4 separate regions of the Homo sapiens genome follow, and all the other regions are linked to region 1. Evidence: promoter capture Hi-C in 16 types of primary human blood cells and fetal thymus (Javierre and others, 2016). All regions are on one chromosome and are shown on one strand. The core of a region is centred on a gene start or on the middle of the fragment in contact, and the rest is flanking DNA. Distances in the headings are between cores, read along the strand shown.

Region 1 (3,023 bases), core at 168-2,667:
TACTGCTCCTCACATATTTCATTGGTAAGAGCAGTGATGAAATAGCAATAAAATTTATGAGACAAGAGTTGTGGCTATAAATAGGGATATGCTTTGCTCGCAAACTGCATAGAATCCCCTTCCCTTTAAAAAATATATAGAAGAGGCCAGGTGTGGTGGCTCATGCCTGTAATCCCAGCGCTTTGGGGGGCCAAAGTGGGTGGATCACCTGAGGTCAGGAGTTTGAAACCAGCCTGACCAACATGGTGAAACCCTGTCTCTACTAAAAATACAAAAAAATTAACCAGGCCTGGTGGCACGCGCCTGTAATTCCAGCTACTTGGGAGGCTGAGGAAGGAGAATCACTCGAACCTGGGAGTCAGAGATTACAGTGAGCTGAGATTGCACCACTGCACTCCAGCCTGAGGGACAGAGCAAGTCTGCCTCTCTCAAAAAAAAAAGTATATATATATATATATATATATATATGAAAATAAAATTCCATCACCTAGAGAAAATCACTAGTCACATTTTTGTATGGTTGTCCAGCATTTTCCCCTACATATATGTAAATATACTATATAATGTTAAAATATTGGGGTGAAACTGCTTTTTATTTAACACTGCATTGTATCTCCAGGTCATTAAATTGTCTTCAGGATCATGGCTCTGCATTTTTTAACATGTAGTTGCTCCCTTATTTATATAACACATTCTCTGTTGGTGAAATTTATTGTATTTTTTTGCAGTTTTTCTTTTCCTACCATGACAAATAAGCTCATCTTTTCCAGTCCTTGTTCATTCAAAGCTGGAAACAAACAACACACACACCCAAATCAGACCTGAGATTCTATGCACAAAAGTGCTTCTTGAAACAAATTATCTAATAGTATTGTAAAAAGAAAAAAAAAGAGATAAAATAAGCCAAGTGATATGTGTCACTCAGTGTTCCAGCGAAAAGCTGACTCCAAAAATTACGTGATCATAATAGCAGAATGATGAAAGAGTGACAGACAAAAGGTAAGAGCATGAGGATGAAGAGGTAATACTCAAACAGCTTTGGAAATGGAGAGGAAGCTGGCGAATGACACAAAGGACAGCTGGAGGATGAACCAGTTTCCCAAGGGGCAAAAGAAACAATGTTGTTTGACATCTTCAGCAAACATTCCAAACTGTAGGGAAGAGGGATGATGGGTTTGTGTTGGTGATAACAGCAAAGTATTAAAGCATGCCTAAAAACTTTCACCATAAAGCAACAATTATTCTTGGTAATGCTACCAGGATAACAAGTTTCTACATGTTGTCATGCTGGCAAAGAAAATAGGGTGTATTTAGAGATTAGATGCCCCATGGACATGTGGTCATGGAAACAAAAGCAAACAGCTAACGTGGCTATGTGTTGAGGTCAGTATTTGAGGGAACATCCGGTGTGTGTTTTATTCAGTATTGTGTAGTACAGAAAAGATCACACATGTATATGTCAGAAGTAGATGCACATGTTCTTTTGGCTTTTTTTCTTTGTTTTATTCTTTTTTCATTTTTTGTGTTTTTTGTTAGTTTGTTTTGAATTTTTTTTCTTGATGCATATGTTCCTTCAACTTATTCAGTACTTCCATGTGCAGGGCTCTGGACTAGACTTTCAGGATCTAAGGCTGAATCCTACACAGTCCTCCCTCTGGGAAAGTGATGAAACCTGTGAGCTCTCCTAGCAACTCTGCAGTCTTCCTTCAAGGTATGTGTTGCAATTTGGGGTTGCACATTTTAGTTGTGATATTTGTGATTAGTTGATTAATGTTTGTCATCCCACGAGACTATAAGTGCCATGAGGGTAGATATCTTATCTGTTTTGCTCCCCATTGCTTTTCTCACAGACTGCTCAGCAATGAATCTTTGTTGAATAAAATAATACTTTATACAAAGGTTAGTGATAAATGTAAGAAGCATCTAGATCAAGAACTGATACATTCTTAGGACAGAAAGATTAATCTAGACAATAGCTTTTTGTCTGGAATTATCTTTTATGGAAGAGACGGCCTTGGCAATCAGAAGAGCAGATTAAGCAATTAGTGTAATCATCTAGGTGGGAAGTAATGGGACATAAAGAACTAGAATAGAAACAATAAGAAGGGAGCAGAGTTGATAAATAAAAGCAGTACAGATACAAAATTGTCAGACGGTGGTCACCCATGGGCTATGAAGGGCAAGAAGAAGCAGAGTCTAAGAATGTGCCAGGTGACTGGGAGGACGGAGATTGTAGAAGAAAGAAAAGGGCAGCTGCTTTAGGTGCACGGAGGGCGAAGGACCTCAGGTTCGAATGTGTTGATGTCACCCTGGTGGAGATGTCAAGCAAGATGAGAGCATGGGATCTGCAGGTTTATGAGAAGACCAATTCAGAGAAACAGAATTTTGAGAAATCTACACAGCGTTTTTCCTTGCAGTTAGAAAGGTGGATGAGGTTGTCTAGGGAGATTATATAGAGAGAAAAGCAGAGGACCAAGGACAGGTGCTTGAGAAATGATGAGACTTGGCAGGACTACTTTTTTAAAAGTTCAGGAAGAAAGAGAAGAAGTGGCATTTCTCTTTTTGGTGCATAAAACCCTATAAGAGAAGAAACCATCCTATTCCCAATGCCAGGAAGTTCCCTATGTACCTTGAGAAGGTCTTCCAGGTTTCAGAGGTGTGGAAGATATCAGTTCCTTGGATAAAGGCAGCAGCTACACACTTTCTAGCAGCAAAATGGCTGAAGAACTGAAGGGTTTAGGATTTAGGAGATGGCTACTGGGACTCCAGCCCGTGAACATCCCAAAATGACAAAGACAGCTCTTGGTTAGCATGTCTGTCTCTAAATTGTGCTGACTAATAAACAGCTGTGAGCTCTTTGATTCTCAGTCCATTCTGACTGGGTCACTGTGGGGAATCCTTTAAAACCAATGAGGCCATAAAGCTTGAGCTTTGCCTATCCCTGTTGTTGGAATATTTTGTCTCCAGTCTCCTAAAGATCAGTCTGAGAGACTGGAACACACCTCACAATTTCTTCCTGCAAT
Region 2 (3,023 bases), core at 364-2,863, 730 kb after region 1:
TTGTCTTACATTCAAGGCCCCATGCTGTAGTCTTCCACTCTCGTCTTTGCCTAGCTCTAAGGCCGGATTTATGGTGGTCAAACTGAAGATGATGAGGGGAGAGACGGAGGGAGAGAGAGAAGGAGAAGAAATTGCAGTCCAAAGCTATCCTCTTCACAATATTGGCCCTGCTTTTTGTACCACATGTATTTAGTCTTGTCACTCACTAAATCTAGGAAGCCTAAATTCATACTCAGAAGAAATATGAAATACCTCTTTCTCTAGCAGGTTGAGCTATGAGTAGCATTCACAACTGTAGTATACATGTTCTATAGGGACCAAGAACTTTCTTAAGGGCTCCAGGCATAGCGTGATCATCCCCATCTGTAATCGAGGAAAGGCTTGTTGTCCTGTCTTCTGGGAAGCGACCCTCTTACTTGGGGCCATACCCTTCCTAGGATTGGCAAGAACTTGATCTCCTGTGTTCCCCACATGGTTGCCTGAGGCTGTTGCCTAATTGACATCACAGCTCTGTGTTTCCCTCTGCCCCATCTGGTGTCTTCCTGTTTCCCCACACTGATTTTGATTACATTTGCTAATAAACTTCTAATACCACAAACTTCATCTCCAAGTTGTTTTTGAGAGAACTCAACCTTGTAATGATAGTCTTATTGGAACTTGATATGCGTATTTTTCTTAAATTGATCTGCCTGAAAGTGCACCTGTGGTTGGGCGGCTATGCTTTTCTTCATTCTCACACGTCTCTCACCCATTTTGATTCTCACTATGGATCATTATTCTAGAGGGTAAGAAACTGTAGGACTTCTTGGCCAGATAACTCTGCCTGATTTCTCAGGTATTATTTATCTGGGAAACATACATAGCACAGGAGCTTAAGAGTGGTATTATCTTCTCGCCTTAATTTCCAGAGATTTTTTCTGTACTGGGAATCCTGGAACATACTATGCTAGGATATTTAAAGCCACATGGTCTGTCTTGTTTTCACTGAATTATTGTGAACACCTAGAATCTTTCTAGGTCCTGGTTTTTCTTGCTTAATCCAGTCTTTATCTCTAACTGCCCCTTATTTTATCAACATGTACTAAGGGCTCTGACAGCCAGCTCAGCTCCTGATCCTTGAGGCGACATCCTTTTTCTCTTTGAACTTCAGTTCTGTCCTTCAATCATGACTAGATGTTTCTTGCCCTCTGCTCTCAGAATTCTCTTGGCTTTTATTCCTTGATCCACTTGCGGTTTTATCACTTTACCCTTGTTACTCATGGCTTCCCGTCAAGCCATGGGTATTAGGTGACAGTGTAATTTATTAGATTCTAGTTTTGCCCAAATACTGGGACTGCTTTAAGAACAATCGAACCATTTCATTATTGGGATAGCCATGGGTACCTTATCAAGCAGATTAAAAGGATATGTTGCCTTTCCTTTAGAAGAGAAAAGCTAAAACCTGGTTGTGGATTATGGATTTAGCATAAAGAAAAACAATCGGGCATACATTAAGAGTAAAAGAGAAGATTAATGGAAATTTCACTTCACATAAGTTAAAACATGGCTGTTTCAATAAACGAAACTGAAGTTTCTCCTGGATCTCAGAATTCAACTTGTATTAATAAATGTATAATGTATTTAGCTACTATTTGGTTTAAATGAACTTGTTGGGCTAGCTTGGTAAACGTTACAATTTTTACTATTTTCTACGGAGAAAATATTTTCTAATTTGAGTTGGAGTTATCTGTGCAGCAGTTTCTCTACAGTTGTACATAGATGTTTTTACTATAAAATGAGCTAATGTGTAAAATACTACTCTATAGTGTAATAAACATAGTACTTTGAGGGGAAAAAAGAGAAACTGTAGGGCTTGAAAAAAGGGCCAATTTGAAATACAGGAGTCATCACTATAATCCTACATAACAGGGCTTTACAAAAGTCCTTTTACATAGGATTATGGTGATGACACATGTAGAGTTTTTGTAATGTCAAATGGTAAATGGTTAGAAGTAAATTAAAAAATTTAAAGTAAAAAGCAAAATTTTGTCTATCATCTGTCCCTCATCTATCAGTTCACGAAATGAGATATTTTGGCTGGGGTATGTGGTAGAGTGGAGTGGACGTCGTAGTAGCAATATTTGGTAACAATATTAATTTAATGAACCATTCTCTTCTATTGTCCACTACTGTAAAGAATGCAGGCTTCCTGAGGAAAAGTTTCATGAGAGTAAAATGGAGAATACCACCAAGAAGTAGTAAAGAGAAGAGAAGCTCCTTGTTTCTACCAGAAAGCAAGCTCATTGGAAGCTGCCATGCATTATCCACATATCTATCCTGGAACACTTAAAATTTAGTAAAGTCATGATGCGAAACACTAATCTTCTACAAAATGTACTGTGCATTTTTATTCTCATAAGGGAGCATTCAGTGAGTCTTAATCTGTATCTTAGTTGTAGACAGCATCATATCAAGAAATAGGGGGGAAATTCCCATGTTATTAACAGATTAGTGTTATTTCTTGAAATAGAAGAAACAAGTAATAGAGGTAAATCAATTTTATTCTTAAAATATATTCAATTTTTGGAAATATTTCTTTATTAATCTTTCTAATAAGTTACTGAAGACATTAAACCCACTTATTTTTTTAGGTGTATGTTTCCTGCTTGCTGTCAAACAAAAACTATTTATGTAGTCATGAACTCCTTCCATGTACTTAATAGATTTGTGTTAACCTTCAGATAATACACATTCTAATATATATACATATATATATAATCTTATTTTTTATTTTTGAGACAGAGTCTCACTCTGTTGCCTGGCTGGGGTGTAGTGGTGTGATCTCAGCTCACTGCAACCTCTGCTTCTCGGGTTCAAGTGATTCTTGTGCCTCAGCCTCCTGAGTAGCTGGGATTTACAGGCACCTGCCACCACACCCGGCTGATTTTTGTATTATTAGTAGAGATGGGGTTTCACCATGTTGACTAGGCTGGTCTTGAACTCCTGACCTCAGGTGATCCACCCACCTCAGCCTTCCACAGTGC
Region 3 (3,023 bases), core at 136-2,635, 710 kb after region 1:
ATTAGTGCCGTGTGGTCTGATGTGTGTTCCCTTATAAGCAACTGTTAAAATATGATGAAACCACAAGACCAAATGTTTATTCTTCAATGTTCAGAAAGTAAAATGTTTCTAGTTATGAACAAGCTTAGTTTGGGAATTATTAAGCAATATAACTAAGCAATGCATTTCATCATCAATTCATCATTTTTTGTTTATATCATGTTCATGTTTATGAATCCAAAATACACATACAATAGTACAATTAAATCACGCTTCAGTTTAAAACCCCAGAGCTATCTAATCTCAGAATACAATCTAAGCTGCTCATAAGACCTTCAACAGCCTGTATGACCTGGTTCTTACCCACATTTCCAGCTTTTCTCTCTCCACTCTTTGATTGATTCACGACTCTTTCCACATTCAAACTTTCTTTTCTTCCTGTTGTCAGTGAAAGAGAATTGCATTGCCAGGACCTTTGCAGCAACTTGTTCTTCAATTTCTCTTTCTCTTAATTTTAGCAAGGTTGTCATTTTGTCAGCATTGAGATTTTGGTGCAAATATCATCTCTCAGGAAGCCTTCTTGGCTATCCTACACTACTTCACTGCCTGTCACACGACTTCGTCTTCTATTTCCATTTATTGACTACTTCCTGCTAGGCAGATGTTGCTCTCTGTTCACTGTTTGTCTTGAGCACCTGGAATACAGGTGCCTGGCATATAGTAGGCACTCAAAAATTTGGCTAAATATCATGTCGATTTTCATAATATCCTAAATATGATATAGATGTTTTTCTTGGTTTAATAATTTAAAGAAAAGGTTTTCTTTGTTTTATTTTTATTATTTTTTGTTGTTGTTGTTTAGAGATGAGCACTTGCTGTGACACCCAGGCTGGTCTCAAATTCTTGGGTTCAAGCAATCCTTCTACCTCTGCCTCTCAAGCAGCTGGGATTACAGGCATGCACCACCACAGCCAGCTCAAAGAAGTTTTGTGTTAAAAAGCCTTACACAAATTATTGTAAAATATTTATTTCAGATAATATATACAAAATTATAAAGACAAGTTACACAAGTACCAGCATTTTAGGGTATGTGTGCATGAGGGTACAGCTTTCAAAAAACCTATTACGTTCAGTGTTTCTGTACATTATGTAATTTAATGAACAGGGCAATGTGCAACGATGAGGAATGCTCAATGATAATCATTTTCTAGATGAGTTAATTGTGACTCATTAAGTTTAGCATGTTTTCAGTTTATTCAGAGAATAAATTAAAAAAGACGAAACCCAAACCCGAGACTTCTGGCTCCAGAGCCTGTGCTTTGTCTATTGAGATGTTTCTTTAACCAATGTGCTTCATATTCAGAAATGCCTGGTAGCATCATTGTCATGAAACGCATTTATTAAAACTTGTGGTACAATAACTGCTTTAGGTCACTTAAAATGAATCAACTAACCTCACAAAACACCAAGCTAATGCAATTATTGGAGATTAGAATAATATGGTGAAACGTCAGTCTTAGTCTGGAAATCTAACACAATTCAGAATAATTTATTTGTTTTTAAAGAGTCTAACATTAAGAAGGAGTGCCACCTTGTGGCATTTTTTTTATGCCGGAGTGCAACCCAGCCTTCTTTTAAAGGTTTCATAAGTGTCCTAATGAATTTGCATTTTAATCACTGTATATCTTTGAAATTTGTAAATATACAACTTATAATAACATTCTATTAAAGATAGAGAAAACATCTAAAGTCTTGGAATGGTAATTATAACCATAATTACCATTCCATTAAGAATTTCCTTTTTTTTTAAGACGGAGTTTCACTCTTGTTGCCCAGGCTGGAGTGCAATGGTGCAATCTCTGCTCACCTCATCCTCCACCTCCCAGGTTCAAGAGATTCTTTTGCCTCAGCCTCCCGACTAGCTGGGATTACAGGCATGTACCACCATGCCTGGCTAATTTTGTATATTTAGTAGAGACGAGGTTTCTCCATGTTGGTCAGGCTGGTCTGAAACTCCCGACATCAGGTGATCCGGCCGCCTCGGCCTCCCAAAGTGCTGGGATTACAAGCATCAGCCACCTTGTCCCGCCAGAATTTCCTCATATTTTAGAGCAGAAAAAAAAATCTACCATCCTGTAGTTCAGTGTGTGTTCATTAATTTTTTGGTTTAATTTATGGGAAGGTAAAGCAGAGAAGCCCTGTGATTTCTCTTTTGTTTGAAAACATTGGAATCAAAATGAATAAATTTAGGGAGAGGATTGAGATGCAGAAGATAATTGCAATTAAGACAGAGGTTTATCTCTTTTGTTCATTTGTTCTCCATCCCAGGTCAGGGAACATGGCATGACCCTCATATTGAATAGAAATAAGAATCTAATTACAAAGTGACTTTCTCATTTATTGAAGAAAGCTCAAGGATTTTTGTAAAATTCAACCAAATTAGTTATGAGAGATGCCTAGTCCAATCTCCTCTTACAGAAATGTATACTTTGACATCTACCCAGTGATATTCTTTAAAAGGTATCTTTTCTTGTGGAAGAGTTGGAATGATCTAATTATGACACTTGTCAATTATGCTTAAGTAAGACACATCAAGATGTGTGAACATCATTTCCAGGAAGAAATAATGTTGAGGAGGAAATTGGTATAGTTGAAGAATCTCTTTTTTCAAGCTTCTTTGTCTGCAAATTATTCTGCTTTGTTTGGTGGGTATCTAAAGAAAAATCCGGCCTATTTAGTGCCTCAAATTAGTATGTGATTGGATGTCATCTTTTAACCTGCTTTAAGCTGAGAGTAAAGTGGGCAGATGACACCCTGCACCTAAAATTTCTGTTCTAAGAGAGGGTGATAAAAGGGATTAGAAAGCATTTTCACTTTGAAGCTGTCACCTTATTTCCCACACAAAATTCAACTCTTGGATAACTATTCCCTTGACTAAATGAGCCATACTAATTTGCCTAACATAATGTACATCACACAGTTTAGTTGTATATCTGCAATATATTAGTGTCTGTGCTCTGAGCTGTGCACCCAAGGATGGGGGT
Region 4 (3,023 bases), core at 155-2,654, 610 kb after region 1:
CTTCTTTATGAATTACCCAGTCTTAATAGTATCTTTGTAGCAATGTGAGAAGACTAATACAGAATTTTTGCATGGTCTTCTTGAGCTATATACAGGCAATTCGAATTTTAAAAGTCAAAAGGAAGGTAAGTCTCACTCATACCCCATAGTAAAGAAATATATACGGAGGCATATGGTTTTCTGCAGGAGCATTTTGTATAAGTAGAAAAGAAATAAAATAATAGAATCTTAAAACAAAATATCATTATGTATATTATTTTAGCTCTTTCCAGAGCAGCTTGTGTTATCTTTAATTAAAGCTTAAACACTGCTGAATGGACGAATCATTTAAGAAGACCAGTTACTGCAGTTACTACTGGAATCAAGCTACATGTTCCATATTAAATCACGGAGCTGTATGGCTAGAAAGAGTCTCAGAAAACTCTGGCTCAGATTCTTGAAGTATCTTCCTTAGAACAGTAGCCCTTAATGGTGCTATTAGCTACGATTAAAAAAGAATAATCATGTATGGTCAAATAGCCTAGAAATCAATGGGTTAAATGAAGTTAAATATGTTTTTCTCTTGCAAGAATTCTCAGTGAGTTTACTCTACCAATGTGTATTTTACTTTCCACAAAAAGCACATTTAACAGCACTCCTCAGATTTCTTTAAACACACACACACACACACACACACACACTTTTTTTTTTTTTCCAAAGAACACTTTGTGAGGAATATTCATTTGAAAACTCTTTGGAAAATATTACCTTAGCCAAAATCCCTTACTTTGCAAAACTATAATTAATACTTGGTGAGTTAAATGATTTACACAGAAAAGTCAGTTGTAGTCGGCCAAAACAAAGAATGTAGCTTTTAGATGTTCAATCTAGCATGCATTGTTCTAAATCACAGTCTTCAGTATGTGCACACATATCTCTGGGAGTACATAAAAATTTTCCAGATATATGTGGGTTCAGACAGTTTTAAGGGATCTAGTTCTAGATTTTGAATTTTTATTATGAATTTCCATATCTCTGTTTCCTAAAACTAATTTGCCTAAGAACGAGTCTATGGGTTGATCATGGGTGAAGGATTACTCTCTCTTTCCCTCCAACCTCTTTCACAATAGCATTTTCCCCACTTAACAAATAATCTCTCATTCATCTGCAGTGTTACTAAGGTGCATTGCTCTCAACTATAAAACTTCTGGAGTGCTGCATAAGGCATGTTAAGGTCCTTTGAGAACAAATCAAAGAGAGGTTCAGTATGAAATGATTGAAGGTGAGACATCTTATTTTATCTAGATGAAAAACTTTTGGCAAGGCAAACATATGTATCTATCAAACATATGTAGTTATATCTATCAAACATATGTTTCTATATCAAACATATGTATCTATCAAACATATATGTATCTATATCTAGGTATATATCTAGACAGGTATATATGTGTATGACAGGTATATATATGCACCTCTAGACAAGTGTGTGTATATATATATATATAGACAGGTATATATACATATATATATATATATGTACCTCTAGACAGTATATAGGTATATATATGTACCTCTAGACAGGTGTATATGTATATGTGTGTGTGTGTATATATATGTGTGTGTGTGCATATATATGTGTGTGTATATATATATGTGTGTGTGTATATATATATATACACATATATATATATACCTCTTTCTCTCTATATATATGTATGTACCTGTCTAGAGGTGTATATATATATATATATATATATATATATATCTGTCTAGAGGTACATATATATATCTGTCTAGAGGTGTATATATATACCTGTCTAGAGGTGTATATATATACCTGTCTAGACAGATATATATATATATACCCCCATACCTGTCTACATATATACCTATATACAAGGTAGAACTTGGAAGTGAAATAATTCTAAAGGAAGCATATTAGCATGTTTATTGGATCTGACTGATTGGTTAATAATGAAAATTGGATTTGCCAGTAAATTATTTATGGACAAAGTTTTAATAAATTGAATAAGCTAAATTTTCAGATTCAATATTTTGATGAAAATAAATAAAAATATATATACAATAAAAAACTAGAAATTCTATCATTCCCAACTATTTAATCTTATGATAGAAGTATCAGCTGTAACCTTAAAAACATGAGTGAATATATATTTTTCCAAAGTTCTGTTGGGCAGTTATATAAATGACTAATTAAAGACCACTGTTCTATACTATGTACTAGAAATGTGTTCATAGAGTATTAATTTCTGAGAATATTAACAATGGAATAAGAGAAAAGCAACAACAAAATTACTACAGGAAAATGTTTTTTAAAGGGTTTTGTCATATTTTTTAAATGCAAGAAAATGAGACTGAACTTTGTATTTTTTTATTTTTTGAAAAACTCACATGTATTGTCATATTCTCTTATTAAAAGAAAGTACAAAGTCTAAGTGAAAGAAAATGATCACAGAAAACACATAAACTAAATCTTTTCTAGAGAGCATTAATATGTATTTCACAATGAAGCTTCTTATTTGGTACATTAGAAGAAATTATTTAATTTTATGGAAAAGCAGTATGTTTGGAAGAAATTTAGCTTTCATTGGTTAATCACAGAATTAGGAATAGGAATATTATACTAAAAGCTTGTTACTTCAGCTTACAAAATATTAGTTTCATTAATGCAATAGTTATCAACACACAGAGACTGCAAACACACCTAAACCTTGACAGCATTGGTCACTAGTGTGCTATTGATTGCTAATTATCAATAAAGTAACATTTATAAGTCATTATATTGACAAATACCTGCCAGCTGTCATATATATATATATATATATATATGTATATATATATATATATATATATGTATCACCTTTCTTCTTACTGTTTTAGATGAACTTTCTGTGCTCCTATATAAGGCCAATTTCTCCATGCATGTACTATATCCCTTTCTCTCTCATGTGTTGTAGAGTATCACTTCTGTATTTTTCATCCTGTTTCATCTTCATTTCACTGAGTTTCTCATCAGCATA

The links. Contacts are between HindIII fragments. The CHiCAGO score rates a contact against its expected background, and 5 or more counts as called.
Region 2: a fragment that was not itself captured here is called in contact with the fragment with the promoter of TRMT9B in region 1 in 1 of 17 cell types (endothelial precursors); the score reaches 8.5 in endothelial precursors.
Region 3: a contact is called between a fragment that was not itself captured here and the fragment with the promoter of TRMT9B in region 1, in 10 of 17 cell types (M2 macrophages, megakaryocytes, endothelial precursors and 7 more). The highest score is 15.1, in M2 macrophages.
Region 4: a contact is called between a fragment that was not itself captured here and the fragment with the promoter of TRMT9B in region 1, in 1 of 17 cell types (erythroblasts). The highest score is 5.1, in erythroblasts.

What each region holds. Positions count from the first base shown.
Region 1 is chr8:12,944,256-12,947,278 of GRCh38, forward strand. It overlaps TRMT9B (tRNA methyltransferase 9B (putative)), which reads left to right and starts at 1,418. Exons shown (of 5, transcript NM_020844.3): 1 at 1,418-1,711. The HindIII fragment of the contact is 4,153 bases long and covers 1-2,921 here.
Region 2 is chr8:13,678,141-13,681,163 of GRCh38, forward strand. No RefSeq gene overlaps it. Among named protein-coding and RNA genes, the nearest start is that of C8orf48, 110 kb to the left of the region's middle. The HindIII fragment of the contact is 9,349 bases long and covers 1-3,023 here.
Region 3 is chr8:13,657,914-13,660,936 of GRCh38, forward strand. No RefSeq gene overlaps it. Among named protein-coding and RNA genes, the nearest start is that of C8orf48, 93 kb to the left of the region's middle. The HindIII fragment of the contact is 2,528 bases long and covers 122-2,649 here.
Region 4 is chr8:13,550,396-13,553,418 of GRCh38, forward strand. It overlaps a transcript of DLC1 not described here. Among named protein-coding and RNA genes, the nearest start is that of C8orf48, 15 kb to the right of the region's middle. The HindIII fragment of the contact is 2,215 bases long and covers 298-2,512 here.